Linked DNA regions of Homo sapiens: all the other regions are linked to region 3. Evidence: promoter capture Hi-C in 16 types of primary human blood cells and fetal thymus (Javierre and others, 2016). All regions are on one chromosome and are shown on one strand. Each heading gives the region's core, a stretch centred on a gene start or on the middle of the fragment in contact. The rest is flanking DNA. Distances are from core to core; before and after follow the strand shown.

The links. Contacts are between HindIII fragments. The CHiCAGO score rates a contact against its expected background, and 5 or more counts as called.
Region 1: a fragment that was not itself captured here is called in contact with the fragment with the promoter of CARS1 in region 3 in 6 of 17 cell types (naive CD8 T cells, non-activated CD4 T cells, total CD4 T cells and 3 more); the score reaches 7.4 in naive CD8 T cells.
Region 2: a fragment that was not itself captured here is called in contact with the fragment with the promoter of CARS1 in region 3 in 1 of 17 cell types (naive CD8 T cells); the score reaches 5.5 in naive CD8 T cells.

Annotation. Positions count from the first base shown.
Region 1 is chr11:2,539,509-2,543,602 of GRCh38, reverse strand. All of the region lies in intron 2 of KCNQ1 (potassium voltage-gated channel subfamily Q member 1), which reads right to left. Among named protein-coding and RNA genes, the nearest start is that of KCNQ1, 97 kb to the right of the region's middle. The HindIII fragment of the contact is 9,571 bases long and covers 1-4,094 here.
Region 2 is chr11:2,511,438-2,515,397 of GRCh38, reverse strand. All of the region lies in intron 1 of KCNQ1 (potassium voltage-gated channel subfamily Q member 1), which reads right to left. It overlaps LOC124902613 (a long non-coding RNA gene), which reads left to right and starts at 3,807. Exons shown (of 3, transcript XR_007062553.1): 1 at 3,807-3,938. The HindIII fragment of the contact is 8,148 bases long and covers 1-3,960 here.
Region 3 is chr11:3,055,457-3,059,998 of GRCh38, reverse strand. It overlaps CARS1 (cysteinyl-tRNA synthetase 1), which reads left to right and starts at 2,576. Exons shown (of 23, transcript NM_001014437.3): 1 at 2,576-2,656. The coding sequence starts at 2,632. LOC124902615 (a long non-coding RNA gene) reads right to left here and starts at 1,375. Exons shown (of 2, transcript XR_007062555.1): 1 at 981-1,375. RefSeq lists an enhancer at 2,390-2,922. The HindIII fragment of the contact is 6,695 bases long and covers 1-4,542 here.

The sequences.
Region 1 (4,094 bases), core at 368-2,867, 520 kb after region 3:
AAATGTTTGGTCTTTAAAAGATACTATTGGGCCTGGAGCAGTGGCTCACACCTGTAATTCCAGCGCTTTGGGAGGCCGAGGCAAGGGGATCGCTTGAGGCCAGGAGTTTGACACCAGCCTGGGCAACAAAGTGAGACCCTGTCTGTACAAGAACTTTAAAAAGTTAGCACCTGTGGTGGCACATGCCTATAGTCCCAGCTACTTGGGAGGCTGAGGTGGGAGGATCCTCGGAGCCCAGGAATTCGAGGTTGCAGTGAGCTACGTTTACGCCACTGCACTCCAGCCTGAGCACAGTGCATGACCCAGTCTCAAACAAAAAAAAAAGATACTACTAAATAAATGAAAAGGAAAGCCACCGACTAGAGAATACATGTGTAAAACAAATATCTATGTAACCAGAATATACAAAGAACTTTTACAACTCAGATGACAAACAGCCCAATTTTACAATGGGTGAAACATTTAAAAAGATATGTCACCAAAGATGTTTCCTGGATGCCAATGAAACACGTGAAAAGATATTCAACATCACTGGTCCTTAGGAAATGAAAGTTAAAACCACAGCAGGATGCCACGCACACCTCTTAGACTGGCTAACATGAAAATGACGGACCACGTCAAGGGTTGATGAGTTAGCCAGTTTCTTAAATAGTTAAAAATATACACTCACCACATTATCCAGCCATTCTATACCTAGGTATTTACCCATGCAGAAAGGAAATATAAGTCCCTACAAACACTTTTATACAGAGTCCGCCAGCACACAAGTGGATAAACAGACTGCAATGCGTCCGTACAATGGGATACGGCTCAGCAATGAAAAAGGAATGAATTATTACATGCCACAGCCTGGATGACTCTCAAATATGGAACCAGACAATAAAAACCACACACTGTATGATTGCACTGACAACAAGCCCCAGAAAACGCCAACCGTCTACACTGACAAGACAGACCAGGGGTCCCCTCCGGAGCCAGGAGCAGCGGAGGAGGGGCCAGCGACGGGAGCGAGAAGCCTTCTGGGGGTGACGGATGTGCCTGCTGTCTCAATTGTGGTGATGGTCCTGTGGCGTACACCCATGTCCAGATTTGTCAAATCCTACATTTTAAACAAGGCCTTCCACTCTATGCCAATTATACCTCAACAAAGCTGATTTTTTGTTTGAGTGAGCAGAATAAATAAAACTGAGGCTATGGCGGTTCCTGGCTGAGGCCCCTCCTTCGCAATTAGCGCGCCTTTGGTGGGCACGGGGCCCCTTACACCGGCTTCCCCTAGCACTTCCTTCCCCGCCCCCGCCAGGGGAGGAGGCATCGTCCACCAACACCCTTTTGCCCTCTTGGCCATTGGCTCTGGACTGAGAACCTTCATGCCCAATGTCCCCACACCCTCGGCACAGCCCCAGGAACTGAGGTCCTGATATGACCTGAATTTCACACATGAGGAAGCTGAGGTGCAGAGAGGATTGGTGACGTGTGTGGACCCACGGGGAAGTCTCAGGAGTCTGGATACCCCCATATCCTGGAGTTTCCCCAGCAAGGTCTGGGAGTCTTTCTGCAATCCCAGGCTCCAGGGCCATGGAGAGCCACAGCAGGCACGGCGACAGCCTCTGAGGCCCACCCCAAGCCAGGGGACCCCACGGTGCAGCTCTGCGCCGGCCTTTCACAGGAGGGGTGCAGAGGCCTCCAGAGGCTGCCGACTGGCCCCCAAACCCCCTTAGCTGATGTCTATGCGAGGACCAGCCACAGGACCTGGGCCTCAGCGCCTCTGACAGGGGCTCCATGAACTCTGGGGAGAAACTACAAATTCTTACAAACTCCCGGGATGAGAGGGGGTTTTCCAAAGGTTCTAGAACTCCTAAGTGGTCTAACAGATGTCCTCATTTAAAAAAAAAAAAAAACTCAAAACACCTGAGCCTGAGATGAAGCAAGAGAACTTGAGCAGAAGGGGGCTTTCTGGGAACGTTCAGAGTATCCTAACGGTGGGGACAAAGCCCTGCTCACAAGCATCCCGAAAACGGCGTCCCCATGGCTTTGTCCTCAATCCCAGGCTTTCATAGCCACCGCCAGGTCCAGGGACCTGGCTGGGTAGGCCACACTGAGAACTAACCAACGAAAAGGGCCCAGCTCAGTCCCTCCCCCGAGGACAGCAGCCATCCCTGACCCTCCCCAGCCAGTTTCAGAAAACGGTCAGTGAGAAGAGACACAGGCCCCGCTAAAGAAAGCTAAAATGAAATAAAGACGCCCGCCCTTCCCCCAGGTTCCCCACCAAATGCTGCTCTGAATGCACGCATCATTCTCAGCACATGGTGCTCGGAAACTGACCAGATCATCACCCCGCCAGGAAAAGGGGCTGGCCTGCGCCTCTCGGCACACACTTGACATTTTGTTCTCATCCAGGCTTCCCATGCTGACAGTTTCTGGATTAAATGTGCAAATGGAACGCGGCCCCAAGGGGGTCTCTCTCCCTGCCTGCCTGAGGTCCAGGGCTGGGTGTGCACGTGTGCACGTGTGCATGCAGGCACGTGTCTGAGCCTGAACGTGCACACACACGTGAGTGTGTCCACATGGGTACCTATGTGTGCATACGTCCACACGCCCATCCGTGCACATATGTCTGTGCGTGTGTGCCTGTGCATCCTCTTCTCCATAAGGCATCTGGGCTGGACACGAGTGTGTTTTTCAACCCCCGACTTCAACTACCTTGACCATGACCAAGTCTGGAAAACTCACCACCAGCTCACAGCCGCCCAGGACTTTTCTCAGCCCAACAGGGATTGGCTTCACCTAAAAATCTAAATGCAGTCCCCTCACAGCAAGTCCCCAGGCTGTGCTCTCTGCCTCCCATTGCCACCCTAGAGGGCACAAAGCTGTGAGGCCCAGAGGACCAGAACGCACCTTCCCAAGTGGCCAGGAGTCAAGACTGCATATTTGGGGAGGAGACTATTGTCCCCAGTTGCCAGGGTCCTAAAGACACCTGAAGGGAACATCCACTCCTCCTGAGGCCAGCTGGAGCTGACCTTGGGGTTGAGAGCATCTCCCACAAGCTACTGAGGAGGCTGCTGGCCGCCCCTGGCCCCAGGTACCCCAGTCATCCCACCAGGCATCCCGTTGGCCAGTTTTATACCCGGGAGAAAGAAAATCTCGTGGGAAGAGCTGTCTAGGCCTGGCCCTGAACAGGGGGCTGGGATCCGAGGTGCTCGAGCCGTGGCTCCTGACCCCGTGAGGCCGCACCGAGCCCTGTCCCCCCAACCTGCAAAGTCACATGATGACACACTTCAATGGTGCACGGCCAGGGCCTCTGGTTTTCACTCTGTGTGACCTGGGAAGCCAAGAACATAATTAGAACTCATCTGAATGTAATGCCCTCTAGGGGGTTCCCCTGGCACCTGCCCAGCCCCCTCCCCAGGCTGCTGCCCAGCGTCAGAGGAGACCTCAGGCTACCTCCTTGTTCAGGGACACAGCGGGTGGACCCCACTGTGCAGTACTCCATGGCCAGTGGGCCCCACAGGGTGGATCCTATTATCCCCCAATGACTTCCCTAGCAGCCCCCTAGGAGCCCCACGTGCAGTGCCAGTGCCAGCTCCCCCAAGCCTGCCTGCGCCCGGCCTGCTCAGCCCGTCCCGTTGTGTTGTGTCAGCTGCTGCCCTGCGCTTCAAGCGAGGCTCTCCAGCTGGCCAGGGTCAGATGTGAAAACAAGGACATAACCCAACCCGGCCCGCCGGCTCCCCTGCACCAGAGACCCCCACCGAACGTGGCACTCACTGATGAGGCTCTTTCCAGCCCTCAGGCAGAACATAAAGGAAACACCTGTCCCCATGGCCGCACACTCTAATCCCACTAAACCCGAATGGAGAAGCCTGGGGGCCCCTGCAGCAGGCGCACCCCCCACCAAGGTCTGACTTTTGTCCTGGACTATGGGGAAGGCGGGAGAGAAAACACGGGAACTGGCCTGGGAGAGCTGGAAAGCCGCGGCCGCCCTTCACCAGGGATGCAACTTCCAACCAGACCCAGGGCTGCAGAGAGCAGAGCACCATGGCGGTGTTCCCTTCGGCCAGCACAGCCATCGGCTTGGCTCCCAGGCTGCCGCGGTGGAG
Region 2 (3,960 bases), core at 1,307-3,806, 540 kb after region 3:
CCCTCACACAGGGCAGGCGTTAAAGCCTCCAAGAAGTGAATGAAATCATGTCCTTTGCAGCAACACGGATGGATCTGGAGACCATGATCCTAAGTGAACTACCGGAAACAGAAAACCAAACACGGCACGTTCTCACTCATGAGTGGAAGCTAGACAGATGGGATGCTTGGACAGAAAGACGGAGAAAGGTCACTCTGGGACTCCAAAGGGGAGGTGGAGAGGGTGAGAGGGGGAGGGTTGAAAAATTACCTATTGAGTATAACGTCCAATATCCGGCTGATGGGCGCACGAGAAGCCCAAACCCCACCATTACGCACGTAACAGACAAGTATGTGTACTCCTCAAATCTAAAATAAAATAACATAAAAAAACAAGAAAGACTTGAGGAAGCAGGCAGAGCTCCCAGAGCACCTCCACTCGGGAAGGGGGCGAGGTGCGGAAGGACAGCGAAGGCCTCAGGTGCCCTGGAGCTGCCAGGTCAACACGACCCACTGGCGGCTCAGGGTGTGGGTCCTCAGGGTTCATCCCTACTTGGGAAAGTCCCTCCTCACATCTAGCCCAAGTCTCTTTTCGAGACGGAGTCTGGCTCTGTCGCCCAGGCTGGAGTGCAGTGGCGCAATCTCGGCTCACTGCAAGCTCTGCCTCCCGGGTTCATGCCATTCTCCTGCCTCAGCCTCCCGAGTAGCTGGGACTACAGGCGCCCGCCACCACGCCGGGCTAATTTTTTGTATTTTTAGTAGAGATGGGGTTTCACAGTGTTAGCCAGGATGGCCTTGATCTCCTGACCTCGTGATCCCCTTGGCCTCCCAAAGTGCTGGGATTACAGGCGTGAGCCACCGCGCCCATGAGCCACCTCGCCCGGCCAAGTCTTTCTTGCTGTAGCTTGGTCTCCTGTATAGGGAAACCTCCTACCCACTACAGAGAACACTGGGTGTCCCTGGAAATGGAGCTGCTGTGTGGCCTCCTTGAGCCTTGGTTTCCCCACTGGGACATGGGAATGCGTCAAGGGCACCCGGCAACCTGAGCCACATTCATCCTCAGATCAGCCCCAGCCACACCTCAATATTCCAGAGATGGGGCAGCCCCAGGATCTGGGACCACAGGCACCTGGCAAGATGCTGCCGGGCTCTATGACCAGGCTAAGAGTGAGCTGGGAGGCAGCCAGTGTCCTGCACGGAAATGCGCCCCGGCCAGCTCCCTCGGCTCTTCTCACTGCCTCCATGGCCGCCAGCGAGGTAAGGTACGATAATGGCAGGGGAGGGGGGCATCTCCCACTCCGTGGAGGGCCAAGCCAGGAGCTGAGGGCAGCTCAGGTTGGGGAAGCTGACCAGGGCACCAGGAGTGACCTGCACACCCCCCAAATGGAGACAAAGAGTCCCCCAGTGTCACTGTGGGGCCCGGGAGCCACTTGCCTCTCTGAGCAGCTGGGTGAGCCAGCATGGGACAGGCCCCATGCACACACCTTGCAGGCCGGGGGGCATCAGAGGCCTTGAAATAGGCAGGTGGGGCTTTAGCCGGGCAGGTGAATTCTCTTTCTGCACCTGGCCTTCCTCCCTCTCCCAGCCCACTGGAAGGGGCAATAAGGGAGGGCTTCTCAGAGGTGGAGGCCCAGTCTAGGCAGAGAGAATGGCAACCTGTGCAGATCCCAGAGGAGAGAGGAGAACCCAACCTGCAGGGATGGATGGAACTCAGGAGAGAGGCCGGTGCGGAGGCAGAGAAACAGCGGCCAGGGTGGCTGGGACACCCCCAGGCTCTGGTGATGGAGGCTCCCGACAGCAGGCGGGTGGCTGTCTCTCCCAGTAGGCCCCAGCATGGTGGACTGGTGCCTGTGGAACTCTGAACACGGCAGGGATGCCTTGGGCCCAGCAGGGACCTCAGGCCAGCAGGTGCCTGGGCCATGCCCTGGGGAAGAGGGCCCAAGACCCCCTAGGCTCTATGGCTCTGAGGGACTGCCCAGCACTTTGAGGGCAGGGCAGGTGGATCCCATCCCAGACACTCCCCTTTGATCCACAGGGCAAACAGCTGCCCCACCCTCAAGTCCCATGGGTCCCTTGAGGTCATGAAACCTTTCCAGCTGAGTCCAGAACTGACACTTAGAGATAGTCTCTGCGTGGCCATATCAGGGAACAGCCAAGAAGAGCAAAGAGGGCTCAGGTGAGTGACGGCCCCTGGAGTTGTGCAATGACACGGCCAGGAGAGTACAAAGGTCCTGGTCGGAGGGTGGGGGAGTCCCTGCACTCACATCACACAGGGTCAGGATTCCCCCCAGACAAGACCTGGTGGCCCAGAGCGCAGCACAGCATCATGGCTTTCTCCTCGGGAGCTCTCTCCTCCAAGGACCGCTCTTCCCAGTGAGCAGGCCGGGGCTTGAGCAGCCTCCTTCCTGAGCCGCCAACTCTCCATCCTCCCAAGATCCCTGCTCCAGGGTCCACTGCCTTCCCAGAGCCAGAGCTCCTAAAGCCCCATCATCTGCTCCCCAAGACCCTGGGCCAGGAAAACCCTCTGCTGACACAGCAAGGATCTCGCCAAGGGGACAGACCGCCCTGGGGAGCAGGACACGCCAACTCCCACGGCTAGGGGTGCCTCCTCAGTGGGGTTGTTTACCTGAACTCCAGGCGGGCAGACAGGCAGGCGCCCCCAGCCTCCATGACCAGTGGTGGCCCTGAGGCATCCCCTGTAACAGCAGGCTGGACCAGAGAGTGTGGCCCCAGACACCCAGGGACCTAGCCCAGCTCAGCCTCAGGCCCAAGGCACGGACATCCCTGCTCAGAGAGCAAGAGGCGGCCAGAGGGCCTCAGGGCAGGGCTGCACATCCCCGGAAGCCACTGCGGGACACTTCAACTCACACCCTGCTGGCCCCATGCGGTCATGGCCACACTTGTCTTGAGGGAAGACTGGGAGGGGTTGTCATCCCAGGTGGCCGTGTGTCCCATTGCAAATCTGGGTGTGTGGGGGCAAGGATGAGGGGGAAATGGGGATTCAGAGAGGGAGGTAGGCATATTGGGATAGGAGACAGACAGTTCTCCTGGCTGCCCATCTCGGGGGCATCCCTTTTCTGCCAATCCCAGTGGCCCCAGGCATCGACGGGGAGGATGCAGAGGCAGGGGCAGCCTGCGGCCCTCTCCCGCCCCGGCTCCAGCACCCGTAGGGCCCTGAGTCCAGGGAAGGCTGAGCATGTGCGGTTCTCATTGTCACCGGCTGGGCAGGCCAAGTGCTCAGCGAGCTTATGGCCCAGGTTTTGTGCAAATCTTGTTCGACTGAGTGTGTATGGCCCATGGGAAGCCCTGGCATTTGGGAGGCACCTAACCCTGGGATGAGACACAAATCTTGCACGCCGAGCCCGACAGCGCAGCCCCTGATGTCTCTGCCCTCCAGGAAGCAGCCCCATTTCCTTTCTCCAGCTGGCCCGAGACAAATGCTCACGCTTCCTCTGCACTGCTTCCTCATGCCCTGTCCATGCCCGCTCTGACCTGTGCCCTCCACCAGGGAAAACCGCGGGTTTTTCCCTGCACAGGGGGCTGCAGGCCAGGCCGGGCTCCACAGGGCAGATTGAGGGGCCCGCATGTGGCCAAGCACCCCCTCCCCTGGGCTCCTGCATGGAGGTTCCCAGCTCCCAGAGAACCTTCCGGGCCACAATTCCACTAGGCCTGGCTTTCACCAAATCCAGGAGTCACTCATGGGCCTGGAGGGAGGAAGTGGCTAATTTTGCAACAGGCCTGGCATGGGGCATTGAATTATTCAACAACAGATGCATTTAGCAGTTTTATTTCTGTCTCGGTATCCTCAGTCCCGCCCAACAGGAGCCCAGCTCTGGCAGGAGGGGCAGGTTGGCACCTCTACACAGCGGCTGGGAGCATGGAGACCACTCACCCGTCACCTGCCACAAACCACTAGTCATGGAGGGTGGACTCCCAGGCCACAGACTGACCAGGACTCAGGTAAGCCATATTACCACCCATG
Region 3 (4,542 bases), core at 1,327-3,826:
ATTCGAGACCAGCCTGGCCAACATGGAGAAACCCGTCTCTACTAAAAATACAAAATTAGCCGGGCATGGTGGCACATGCCTGTAATCCCACCTATTCGGGAGGCTGAGGCAGGAGAATCTCTTGAACCTGGGACACTGAGGTTGCGGTGAGCCAAGATGGCACCATTGCATTCTAGCCTGGGCAACAAGAGTGAAACTCCGTCTCAAAAAATTTTTTTAAATTAATTTATATATGTGTATTTATTTATTCATTTATTTATTTTAGAGACAGGGTCTCACTCTGCACCCAGGCTGGCATGCAGTGGCACAATCATAGCTCACTGCAACCTGAAACTCTGGGGCTCAAGCCATCCTCCCTCTTCAGCCTCCCAGAGAGCTGGGATTACAGGTGTGAGCCACCATGCCCAGCTGAAATTTTCCCTTTTTACAAGGATATCAGTTATACTGGATTAACGTCCCCCCTAATGACCTCATCTTATGACTTTATCATCTGCAAAGACCCTATTTCCAAATAAGGTCACATTCACAGGTCCTGGTGGTTATAGGATTTCCACATCTTTTGGGAGAGACACAATGCAACCCATAACAACCTGTAACCCAATGTGCTGTCCCAAAGAACTACAACACCAGGGGGATGCTGAGGTTCAGAGAGTGTCCTTGCCCTGGTGGTAGGGCTGGGACGCAGCAGGACTGGGGAGGCGGGACCCACTGCTGCTAGACACTGCAGCACTCTTAGACACAGCTCGGCCACCTGAGCAGGTGATCATTTCCCAGTTCCGCTCTGCAGACCCTTTTTTTTTTTCCCAGTAGAGATGAAGTTTCACTATGTTGGCCAGGCTGGTTTTGCACTCCTGACCTCAAATGACCTGGCCGCCTTGGTCTCCCAAAGTGCTGGGATTACAGGCGTGAGCCACAGTGCCCGGCCCCACTTTGCAGATTTAAAAACAAGACATCTGGAAGCTCAGAGAAGTTAAACTCACCCCAGGTCTTACAGCCAAACTCTGGCTTGCCTGACCTGATGTCAGGAGGCTTTCTTAGTGCAAGAAAGGAAGGGCAGGGCAAGCCTTAGCCGAATGTTTATCTCTAAGAGGCTTCTGACTCTCCTGGGCGCCTCCGGTTCCTTCTCCCAGGAAGGCATGTGGCCGAGCTGGGCTTGGGTGACTCATGGTCCTAGAGTGATGAGTGAGAAACAGGCACTGTGAGAGTCATGGTAGGACCTGGCCAGAACTTCGTCCCCTAAGTCCTGGACTTGGTCCCTCCTTTGGGATTAGTTGGGGTCTCACAGAGCCTCCCACATCCTGGGCAAGTTACAGCACATGCTACAGGATCTTTGCAGAAATGTAAACAAACTCTTTCTTCTTTTTTTTTTCCAGCCACCAGTAGAATTTAGAATTTATTTATTTATTATTTTATTTATTTATTTATTTATTTATTTATTTGAGACGGAGTCTCACTCTGTTGCCAGGCTGGAGTGCAATGGCGCAATCTCGGCTCATTGCAACCTCCACCTCCCTGGTTCAAGCGATTCTCCTGCCTCAGCCTCCTGAGTAGCTGGGACTACAGGCAAGCGCCACCATGTCCAGCTAATTTTTGCATTTTTAGCAGAGACAGGGTTTCACCATGTTGGCCAGGATGGTCTCGATCTCTTGCCCTCATAATCCGCCCACCTCGGCCTCCCAAAGTGCTGGGATTACAGGTGTGAGCCACCGTGCCCGGCCTTAGAATTTATTATGAAATTAGACATGAGGTTCCAAAAAGTAACTAGAAGATTTTTTACTTTTTATTTTTTGAGAAAGGGTCTCACTCTGTCGCCTAGGCTGGAATGCAGTGGCACAGTCGTAGCTCACTGCAGCTTCAAACTCCTGGACTCAAATGATCCTCCTGCCTTGTCCTTTCAAGGTGCTGGGATTACAGGCATGAGCCACTAATCCTGGCTAATAATTTTTCTTGACATATTAAAATTCTGTTTCTTAAATAGCATTTCCTCTCATTTTGGATGGGTGCACGAACCTTGGGTGGGATATCCTTGGGAGGTGACATCATGCACACAGAAGGCAGGAGCCCTAAGGGGGTTGGGGATGGCTCCAGAATGGGGTCTGAGAAGGAGATGGAGAAGCCTGTTCACGCAACACTTCATAGTGGCTTGCTTTCCGCAGGGTCATTGGCAGGGCGGTCCCTAGGCCTGGAGCGCTCTTCCCGCCCATCCCCAGGCCCTGCTCCAGGTCGGCCTCCTGGGAACCATCCCGTCTCGCCAGCACACCCTGTCCCGAGGCCGCCTCTGACCTCCAGGCTGGGCCTGGTCCCCACGGCGCTTAGCGCAATCATGACTTAAACACCTATTACAGGACGCTCAGTCTTTAGTGCTTGTCTCCCCGCGGCTGGGCTGACTACTCCCAGCACGGCCACTGAACGCTTGGCCGCGCGATGCTCCGGAGCGCGGGTCGCCATTGGGTTGAACTACAGCTCCCAGCATGCTCCGGGCCGGCGACATCCGGAGCCCCTGGTAGTTGCCTAGCGACCGGGCGTGTCCCGGAAGACGGGCCCGGCGTGGGGCGCGACTTCCGGGGCGGCGGTTGCATCAGATTCTAGGAAGTGTCTGTAGCCGCAGCTGCGGGTCCGGGATTCCCAGCCATGGCAGATTCCTCCGGGCAGCAGGGTGAGCGGCGCGGCCGGGCCAGGCTGAGGGCGGCTGGGGGCCTGACTGGGCGCTGGGTGCTCGGCTCGAAGGGCAGCGAGTCCTTATGTCTGAGGGGCCCGGGTGCATGGGTTCTGAGGGGCAGCTGTGTCCGTGGTCTGAGGGGCGGCAGTGCCCGAGGTCTGAGGGGTGTCAGTGCGCGGGGTCTGAGGGACGGCACGTCCTTGGGTCCGAGGGGCGGGGGTGCTCGGGGTCTGAGGGGTGTCAGTGCCCGGGGTCTGAGGGACGGCGGGTCCTGAGGTTCGAGGGGTGGCACGTCCTAGGATCCGAAGGACAACGGGTGCCCGGCTCCGAGGGACGGCCACTGGGACCCCTGGGACTCCTGCGTGAGGGTCTGCCAGACCCGTGGCTGGAGCACAGACCCCGCGGGGACCCGAGCCCGAGCGGGGCGCTGCCCAGACCACCCAGCCTCAGTTTCCTCACTTGGTTCCTGCCGAGGTCCCCTTGCATCCTCACCCCGGGAGGTGGCCCTACATCAAACAGCCTTTCCCCAGCCGGTGCCTGGGCGGGCCCTCGCTCCCTCTTGCCCCAGCTGGCCTTTAGGGGGGAGACAAAGGCCCAAGGGTTGTTTTGGTTTTCTGCCCAGACCTGGCAGCTTCCGGGAGGTGGGCGGAGGGCACCTGAGGTTGGTATTTAGGGAAATGGGGCAGAGGACGCCAGGGGTACGCGTACACACAGTAAAAGGGCTTGGGGCTTTACGAAGGCTTTCATCTCCAGTTCCGCAGGCAGTCCACTGCAAGCTGATTGTCAGAGCATTACTGCCCCATTTTATTGCCAACCCGGGAGGTTCCCCAGGGACACAGCTGTGTCAGCTCCCCCAGTCACTCATGTCACCAGCGGGTAGACCTTGAGAGACCAGTGGGTTCTTCTCTCACTGTCCCTCCAGCAAGATTTTAGGTGCTGGAAAGGCAAGAGACTGAATCAGAAAGCCCAGATTCCTAACAGTCTGGAGCAGCCTTTCCAAAGGAAACATTCTCAGTATCTAGTTTTTAATTCTTTTGGCTGGCAAAAATTAGATGCAAGTTCTTGTAAGACACCTCCAGCCCCCACCCTCAGTTTAGATCGTACCAAGATTTCCTTAGCATCTGGTGGTGCCCTTTGCCCCTGAGGGTTTATTGGGTTATAGATAGGTAGTTATGACAACCCGAGTAATCTGGCGGCATGGGGACACCCAGATGACAGGGCTACACTCTTGTGCCAAGTGGCAGGAGGTGGTCACCTTCCAGGCACGCCGCCTACCACCCTACCTGTGTGCCTGGATTCCAGCACCATCTCCACCCGTCCCAGAGCCAAGCGGCCCTCAGAAGTCACCCAGATTCCTGTAAAACAGCATCATAGTTAACAGCCCCAACTCTGGAACCACCCTGGAAGGGCCAGGGTTCCAACTCTGCCTCCCGCCCCACAGCAAACCATGCGTAATGGCTCCTACCTTGGAGCATGGAGTGTAAATGAATTAATAGATGGGAAGGACGTAGAACAGTGCCTGGCACTCAATTAAGTGCTGTGTCTGTGCTGAAAGTTAGGGCCTGTTTGTTTTCAAACTAAAAATGTGTTTTTGTTCATTTGTGAACGTAAATGACGTATTAGTAGTGTTTTGTATCTTGTTTTTAAAAATAGCTTTAGAATTTTAGGTTTTCAGAGCCTTGTAAGAATTGCCTTCTTTTTGGAGCTTGCCATATAGGTTGGGATTGCCCTCTCCGGGCTGTCAGGGCAGCAGGCAGATTGCCCAGTCCTCAGCCTGCGCACAGCATCTCCAGCCAGTGTTCTTCTGCCCCAGGGCATGGCCCACCTGCCTTTACTATCGCCTCCTCCCATCACACACACACTCTCAAAGATGAGAACAGGAA